2 separate regions of the Homo sapiens genome follow, and region 2 is linked to region 1. Evidence: promoter capture Hi-C in human tissues and cell types (Jung and others, 2019). All regions are on one chromosome and are shown on one strand. The core of a region is centred on a gene start or on the middle of the fragment in contact, and the rest is flanking DNA. Distances in the headings are between cores, read along the strand shown. Region 1 holds the start of BHMT2 (betaine--homocysteine S-methyltransferase 2). Region 2 overlaps ARSB (arylsulfatase B).

The links. Contacts are between HindIII fragments. The study calls those that stand out against the background at their distance.
Region 2: a fragment that was not itself captured here is called in contact with the fragment with the promoter of BHMT2 in region 1 in 2 of the 25 tissues and cell types used here (mesendoderm cells and thymus).

The regions. Positions count from the first base shown.
Region 1 is chr5:79,068,508-79,072,791 of GRCh38, forward strand. BHMT2 (betaine--homocysteine S-methyltransferase 2) reads left to right here and starts at 1,260. Exons shown (of 8, transcript NM_017614.5): 1 at 1,260-1,308. The coding sequence starts at 1,276. It overlaps DMGDH (dimethylglycine dehydrogenase), which reads right to left and starts at 1,167. Exons shown (of 16, transcript NM_013391.3): 1 at 1,013-1,167. The coding sequence starts at 1,113. The HindIII fragment of the contact is 19,729 bases long and covers 1-4,284 here.
Region 2 is chr5:78,909,723-78,913,959 of GRCh38, forward strand. All of the region lies in intron 4 of ARSB (arylsulfatase B), which reads right to left. Among named protein-coding and RNA genes, the nearest start is that of ARSB, 73 kb to the right of the region's middle. The HindIII fragment of the contact is 5,848 bases long and covers 30-4,237 here.

The DNA of each region.
Region 1 (4,284 bases), core at 10-2,509:
AGTTGGTGGCTACTGCATTCCCAGTACTGGAGACAAACCTAGCACATCACAACACCCAGTAAATATTTGTTGAATGGATAGATGGAACTCAAAAGCAGGTCTTCTGATTCCAGAATTTCAGGTCATAGGACATAAAATAAAATTCGAATCAACTCATAATAATGTTGAGTGATGCTGATAAACAAGCCTTTCCTGGCAACCAGGAATAATCTACAAATATAAGAAGTCGAAAGATGTTCAGCATTGCTCATATTTAAATACAGACCAATCAAAACAAGGACATGCCATTTTTACCTATCAGATTTAGCAAAGATAACAAAATGGGCTATTCTGGGAACCAGGGAAGATGTGGGAAACAGACACACACTGGTGTGCCGCATGCAAACTCTTGCCACCCACTTGGAGAATGTGTTGCTGTCTTTCAATCTTTCAGATGCACGTAACCTTTTCCCTAACAAGTTCACCTTTAAAAACTGTTGCTACCGACTCCCATATGTACTCAAAGATAGATGCCTAAGAATTTTCACATGCACGTTATTTGCAGTAATAAACAACCAAAAACCATTTAAATGTTAATGAATAGACTAACGATAGTGTAGAATATTGACAGGATGGAAAACTATGCAGCCATTAAAAGGAACAAGGCAAGTCAGTGTGTGCTGATATGGAACAATCTCCAAGATATATTGATAATTGTAAAAAGCAAGATGTCAAAAAGCCAAAGGAAAACCTATACTGACCTGTGTTTGCCTATGCGTAGACTGTCTCTGGTTAGATTCAGAAGACACTATTAACAATTGTTCACTGGCCAAGGGGATTGGGGCAGGAGAGACTTTACACGGGGAACCTTTGGATACTGTTTCACTTTATAATTAAAAGATAATTCGAGAAGATATATCAAGGCCTATTTCTTGGAGGCCAGAGCGCTCCTAACCCCTGAGCCTGCCTCAGCCTCTGGCTCCCACCCCCGCAGCCGCCCCGTCGCCTCTGAGCAGGACGGGGCCCCACTCACCCTTCCCGGCCGCAGACAGAGCGCGGGCGCCCGGGGGAGCCCTGCAGCGGGCAGCTCCGCAGCAGGAGGCCCCGCAGCAGCTGCGCGCCGGGACGGAGCATGACTAGGCCGAGGCCGAGGGCGCAGGCGCCTGCTCCGAGGCCAGCGGGCAGCCTGAGGCCGCGGGGCCGGCGGGGCGGGGGTCGGATCCTCCCCCCGGGCTGGGGGCGGGCTCCTAGACGGCCGCGCGCCCGGGAACCCGGCGCCCACAGAGCCGCGGCACCATGGCACCTGCTGGACGCCCGGGGGCCAAGAAGGTGAGTTTCGTCCCCTCGATCCTCGCGGAGCTCCTGGCCGCTGGGCTGCGAGCGACTCCGTTCACACCCGGCGTCCATCCCTAGCCAAGCCCTGGGGCCTCGGCAAAACACTTGGACGGGATGGCCCTGAGCCTCAATTTTCCCCTGTCACGGGTTGGTTAGCGTTTATGGAGCCCTTACTCGGTGCCTGGCGCTGCACAGAGTGCTGTGCTCAAGTTATCTCCTCATCTTCACAATTATCCCCATTTCACAGGTGAGGAAACTGAGGCTCGGCGAGTCAGGCGACTAGCTCAGGGTCACGGGTCCAGCCCCGCGGGGAGCGAGGATCAGAAGTCTAGCTTTCGGACGCATGTCGCGCACACATTTTCTTCCCTCAACCGACCCTCGCCCGCAGCTCTTTGGGCTAATCCGTCCGGGAACTCTTCGGACTGTCCCCTCGCGTTTTGGAAAAGTCAGCAGCCTGGCCAAGCAGCCTGGCCTTGCGAGTCGCCGGCTGGTCTGAAACTAGTCCTGGGCAAGGACGCCCCCAGAGCTGCGGTGCAGGGTGGAGGGTAGGTGGGATTCGCTAGCACCCCTCAACCTCCTCTCACCCGGTGGTCCCCAGCTCCTGGCCCCTTTCCTGGTCTGGTCACCAGATGTTGGCTTTATGCCCAGCCATTTCTACGTCGAGTATGTGTGGGGGTGGGATGAAGGAGTGACTAAGCAAAATTAGGAAGGGCATGAGCTTGGACGAAAGACATCCCCAGGACCCTTCAGAGACCCCCACCCGCTCCAGCCCTGTCATTCAGAATGGGAGGAAGGGAGGAGGGGCAGTTTATGCGTGGAAATGTGCACCACCGAGCTATTTATACTAAAAAGTTAGAAACGACCAAGATACTCTGCAATACGGGATTCTAAATAAATTAAGGTTCATCTACTTAAGTTATTAGACAGTTAAATAACTTAGTATGAGAACCAGCTAAGTGCCTTGGCAATGTTAAGTTGCAAAAGGAAATATATCACAAACTGATCCCAACCATATACAAATATTTATATACACACTGTAAGGAAGGACACAATAATGGTAATAGTTACACAAGATGTGGAATATTGGTTTAAAAAGCATGTTTTAGGATATTTTTTCAGGTTATAAAAGCAAAATGTGAGCATTGAAAGAATACAGTTAATAAAAATAATCAAAGAACATTGTGCTTTTTTCTCTCAACTTTCTCTAATGCTATGTTCATCTTTACAGTTCATATTTTTAAACGTTTTTAAAATGCCCTGTTTTTGTTCAGTGTCTTTGGGGCCTCTACTGTTACAACACCAAGATTATCACACACTAATCCATGTGAATGTGTACCTGGGAGTTAAGGTGTTAATGGGAAGGAACTAATCTCACCTCTCTCCTCAGCTAGCAGGTACATTTTAAGAATTCATTTAATTGCCACAGACAAGACCTCCAATTAGGTCTTAAATCCAAAAGAGCAGTTCTGCTGGCAAATCTAGGAAAAGGGGAAGTTATTTTAGACAGACTGGGTTTTTCTGATCACCTCCTACTACACAGTGAAGTTGATCCCCACTGAGTATGAATAGAGATGTCTTGAAGCCAGATCTTAAACCCAGAGGTCTTACGTAGTGATATCTGCAAAAAGGGGGCATAAATGCACCCTAGAGCTCGCTGTCAGATGCAAGGCAGGTTCACTGCCAAACTGATGGGGAGGAGGGAATGAAAATATAAATGTACTGCAAAATTAATTTACAGGGTTCCTTATTTTACATGTTCCTGTCTTTATAATTTTACAGTTGACTTTAGATCGTACTAGTATAATGGTGAGGAACAACACACACTGGGGCCTATCGAAGGGTGGAGGGTGGAAGGAGGGAGAGGATCAGGAAAAATAACTAATGGATACTAGGCTTAATACCTGGGTGAGGAAATAACCCATATAGCAAACCTCCAATGATGCACATTTACCTGTGTAACAAACCTGCACATCCTGCACATGTACCCCTGAACTTAAAAGTAAAAAAAAAAAAAAAAAAAAAAACTAAAGAAGGGATCATACTGGTATAGTAATTAATTGAGGTAGTTAGAATAGCAGTGAAGGAAGGGCTAAAAGATGCTCTGATCTCAAATCTTGATAACTTAGTTATTTTGCTAATGGCTATGTAGAAAAATGGCAAATTGGCCGGGCACAGTGGCTCACACCTGTAATCCTAGCACTTTGGGAGGCCGAGGCAGGCAGATCATCTAAGGTCAGGAGTTCGAGACCACACTGGACAACATGGTGAAACCCTGTCTCTACTAAAAAATACAAAATTAGCTGGGCATGGTGGCATGCACCTATAATCCCAGCTACTTGCGAGGCTGAGGCAGGAGAATTGCTTGAACCCTGGAGGTGGAGGTTGCAGTGAGCTGAGATCGCGCTACTGCACTCCAGCCTGGGCGACAAGAGTGAAACTCTGTCTCAAAAAAAAAAAGAAAGAAAAGAAAAGAAAAATGGCAAATTTAAAATGGTGGACAAACATCCAGATAACAAATGAAAATGTCCTCCCTTTACTTGGTTTCATAAAGACACAGTCAAAATATATACTACAATTTTCTTAAAACCTACCTAATTGTCTGCTAAAGAGTAACATTTTTTCTTCTTCAGGACAAAAATTCTAGCATATGCAATACATCTGACATTTTCAAAACAGTCCTGTTTATTTGCTAATTCTTGGCATAGTTTCTTAAGTGTCTACTCATTTTAGTTGTTATATGTGGTGGTAGGGATATAGACCAATAAGATATGTCACCTGCCCCCAAGCCTCTTACAGTCAAACTGAGGTGACAAGTAAGTAACCAGATACTGCTGTACAGGGGGATGCATGAATGAAGGATCTGTGAAGTTAAGCAGGACACAAAAGGGGTATAATCACAGGTGAGACTGGGTCAGTGAGCCTGTGCTCTGGTAGCAATGGAAGACAGTTCAGAGTAGGGCTGGAGAGAAC
Region 2 (4,237 bases), core at 1,704-4,203, 160 kb before region 1:
TAGTCTGAAATATGGCCTTGTGGGATGGGAAAGACCTGACCATCCCCCCAGCCCGAGACCCGTGAAGGGTCTGTGCTGAGGAGGATTAGCAAAAGAGGAAGGCCTCTTGCAGTTGAGATAGAGGAAGGCCACTGTCTCCTGCCTGCCCCTGGGAACTGAATGTCTCGGTATAAAACCCGATTGTACATTTGTTCAATTCTGAGATAGGAGAAAAGCCGCCCTGTGGCGGGAGGCGAGACATGTTGGCAGCAATGCTGCTCTGCTACTCTTTACTCCACTGAGATGTTTGGGTGGAGAGAAGCATAAATGTGGCCTACATGCACATCCAGGCATAGTACCTTCCCTTGAACTTATTTGTGACACAGATTCCTTTGCTCACATGTTTTCTTGCTGACCTTCTCCCCACTATCACCCTGTTCTCCTGCCGCATTCCTCTTGCTGAGATAGTGAAAATAGTAATCAATAAATACTGAGGAAACCCGGGGACCGGTGCCGGTGCAGGTCCTCTGTATGCTAAGCACCGGTCTCCTGGGCCCGCTGTTCTTTCTCTATACTTTGTCTCTGTGTCTTATTTCTTTTCTCAGTCTCTCGTCCCACCCGATGAGAAATACCCACAGGTGTGGAGGGGCTGGCCCCCTTCATAAAGTAAGAAGAATGTCATCTGAAGGTCCAATAAAAATAAACAAATGAAGAAGTAGAAATTAATGTTGTATTAGTCACTGCCCCATCTATTGTTACATCACATCATAATACATCATTGAAATAGCATTGATTATTAAAGTTTCCATGATAATAGAATGTAAGACTAAATTTTCAGTGTAAAAATAAGAGAGATATGGATAGGTCTTCTAAAAGCAGAAAAGAAGATGAAAACTTCTAAAGGATAAAAAGATGGGTAGGATTGGGAAATATCCCCTTTAGAAATAGAACATCTCTTCTATTTCTAGACCAAGTAAGTTCAGACAACGATTACTTCAAAAATATCTGAGCACACTAAAAAAATTTTTAAAAATCCAACTATCTGAAAATATAAAATCTCTCTAGAACAGCTCTCAAGCAATAGTGTGTCGAATCACCTAGAAGTCTTGTGAAAACAGACTGCTGGGAACCATCTCCAGAGCTTCTGGTCCAGAAAGGGGCCTGAGAATTTGCCTTTCTAACAAGTTTCCAGGTGATAGTGATATTGCTGCTCCTGGGACCATACTTAGAGAACTATTGCTCCAGAAAGAGATTTAATGGCTAATACAATAAAGTCAAGTGATCTTACTCTGTATTTTTGTTGTTGTTGTTCTTTTAAATCAACAAAAGTGATTCAAGTGTCAAGTGTGGTTGAATGGTGAGAATGAAAAAATAAGCAAAAAACGAAGGGGTATTGAATCAGTGCAGAATAGTCAGAAGTCACACACAGAGAAAATGGATGTATTTTACCTTTGGTGAGGAGTAAATTATAAAAGGACTGTAGCTACTTTCTGAAAGGTAAAATTGTCCTGACTCAAGGATGAAAAGGTATGTCAAAGGGGAATGTTTTATAATAATGAGTCCCTGGGTCTAGACCTGATACCAGTGGTTCTCATCCTGGCTACATTATAGAATTACTTGGGCACACTTTGGGAGGCCAACGCAGATGGATCATCTGAGGTCAGGAGTTTGAGACCAGCCTGGCCAACATGGTGAAACCCCGTCTCTACTAAAAATACAAAAATTAGCCGGGTGTGGTGGTGCACGCCTGTAATTCCAGCTACTCAGGAGGCTGAGGCACTAGAATCGCTTGAAACCAGGAGGCGGAGGTTGCAGTGAGCTCAGATCGCACAACTGCACTCCAGCCTGGGGAACAGAGTGAGACTCCCTCTAAAAAAAAAAAAAAAAAAAAAAAAAAAAAAAAAAAAAAAGAATAACTTGGGCAATTAGAAACTTGAAAGGGGGCTTTCCGGGTGATTTCCAAGTACAGAGAAGATTATGAACCTGCCTACAAGGTGTTCTACTCTGCAGAAAAGATGAAGTGTTGAATCACAAAGAGACGAGAGACACAGCTTTCTATGGATGGTGATTTTAATTCCCATGACTGGACCACAGAATCTCAATACAAAGACAATGAGGTCAAGATAGATTAAATGATATGCAAGAGGCTGTACAGCTAGTTAGGGGCAAATCCACTATTAAACCTCTTTTCCTGAAGCCCATCCAAATTTCTGTCTACCATATTATTTGACTGAATTTGCAATAATAATTTTAAAAATAGAAAAAAGGTGGTATTTGGGGAGAATCTAAAATAGAGATCTCAGTACACAACAGTAAGGTCAATTATCACATTGGAGATTCCAGTGTTTTCAATCAAAATATCCACTATAAGAAACTAAGAAGTCAACACAGGCTTTCATCAATTCTGAAACTACCTCTAATGTAAACAGAGCTTTCACTATCTACAAGCCAAGTGGTTCCAGTGAGGTTGGTTACTGACGTTATTGTAGTACACAAAAGCCATGGGAAATTGAAGCATAAGGAAAAAGAGAGAAGATGGCCTACAGTGATGTTGTCTGGCAACCTTAAGAGATCACAGGCAGGCTCTTCTCCAGCAAGCTGTTTCTCATACTCCATCAACGATATCAACATATTGCACTGGGAGAGGTTTGCCAGAAGGAAAGTGAGGTCATGGAGTGATTTGGTGAAGCCCACAGCTCGTCTGTAACTCAGCCTACTTTATGGGACTCAAAGTGAATTAAAACTACATTTTAAAAGCTGTGTCTTCCACCTGGTTCTCCTCACTGTTTTTGGCTAGCAGGAAAAGGGCCTGTCAGTTTTATCTGTAGGAGGTAAAAAGGAACAGCACATTTCAGGGAAAAGCAAATAAACATATTTGCTGCGGTGGTTTCAGGTTTACCAATGCAGCAGGTGGGTCAGGAAGCACAGCACTGATCCCAATCACTGCAACATTAACATTTTGCTCAACCAAACATGATGTCACATGGCCCATGAGAAAGCATGTTTTGAGCTCATAATATGAAATAGAGGTCAGACAGGAGCTTCTCCCCCATGTGACCAACGCATCTACATTTTACAGGAATTTCTTCCTCTTGGGATCAATTCACAATACCTCTATCCATTTCCATGTCTTGATAAAAACCAAATAGAAAATCAGAAATTATTTTTAAAGCAGCTTTGCTGAAAGAATATTCAAGGCATTAGAAAGAAAGAATCAATATATCATTTTGATCACTTAAAAGCTTTTTTTCATGGTTACTCAAAACCCACGCAGAGCTAGGAGATAGGGCTCATTAAATCAGAGGGATTCTGGAAGACCATTTCCTGGTCAGCTGGAGCAATGTTGCCTGCACCAGTCCTATCCCTAACAGCCAAAAACTGTGATGAGAACCAGGCTTTTAAAATGTAGTTTTAATTCGCTTTTTTTTTTTTTTTCTTTTGTTGAGACAGAGTCTCGCTGTCGCCCAGGCTGGAGTGCAGTGGCGCGATCTCCGCTCACTGCAGGCTCCGCCTCCCAGGTTCACGCCATTCTCCTGCCTCAGCCTCCCAAGTAGCTGGGACTACAGGCGCCCGCCACCTCGCCCGGCTAATTTTTTGTGTTTTTAGTAGAGACGGGGTTTCACCGTGTTAGCCAGGATGGTCTCGATCTCCTGACCTCGTGATCCGCCCGCCTCAGCCTCTCAAAGTGCTTGGGATTACAGGCGTGAGCCACCGCGCCCGGCTTAATTCGCTTTTGAGTTTCATAAAGTAGGCCAAGTTACAGACAAATGCAGCAGTGTGAGGTAGACTTTCTATTTTTCCTATCCTGTTGTGTGATGGAACTTACTTATTTCTTTTGATTCTCAGGTTTCTCATGCTATAATTAAACACAAATGTGGCTCCTATCATTTTATTTTACAAAAGTGAGTTAGAGCCTCTTAATCCATATTTCAATATAGGCTCAGTGTTACATATTTGTGTTTGGAGCTGAAATCCACAGACCTGCCAGCTTAGTGCATCACAATTATTCTCTGCTACTATGTGTACATGTTTATACCAAAGTATAAAGGTACCCAAGATTTCAGCTGGGGGAAAAAAAATTTCTTTGCTAGCTGTAGTCACCTCAATAATGATTTCTTAAGATGACTGCTATTGTTAAAACTCATGTTTTTAAAAAAATTTTTAGTGTCAGAAAAATTTTCACTATAAAAGGTTAAATATTTACCTTAGGAGTAGAATAATAATAATTCACATTTTCCTCTTTATACCTTTCAATACC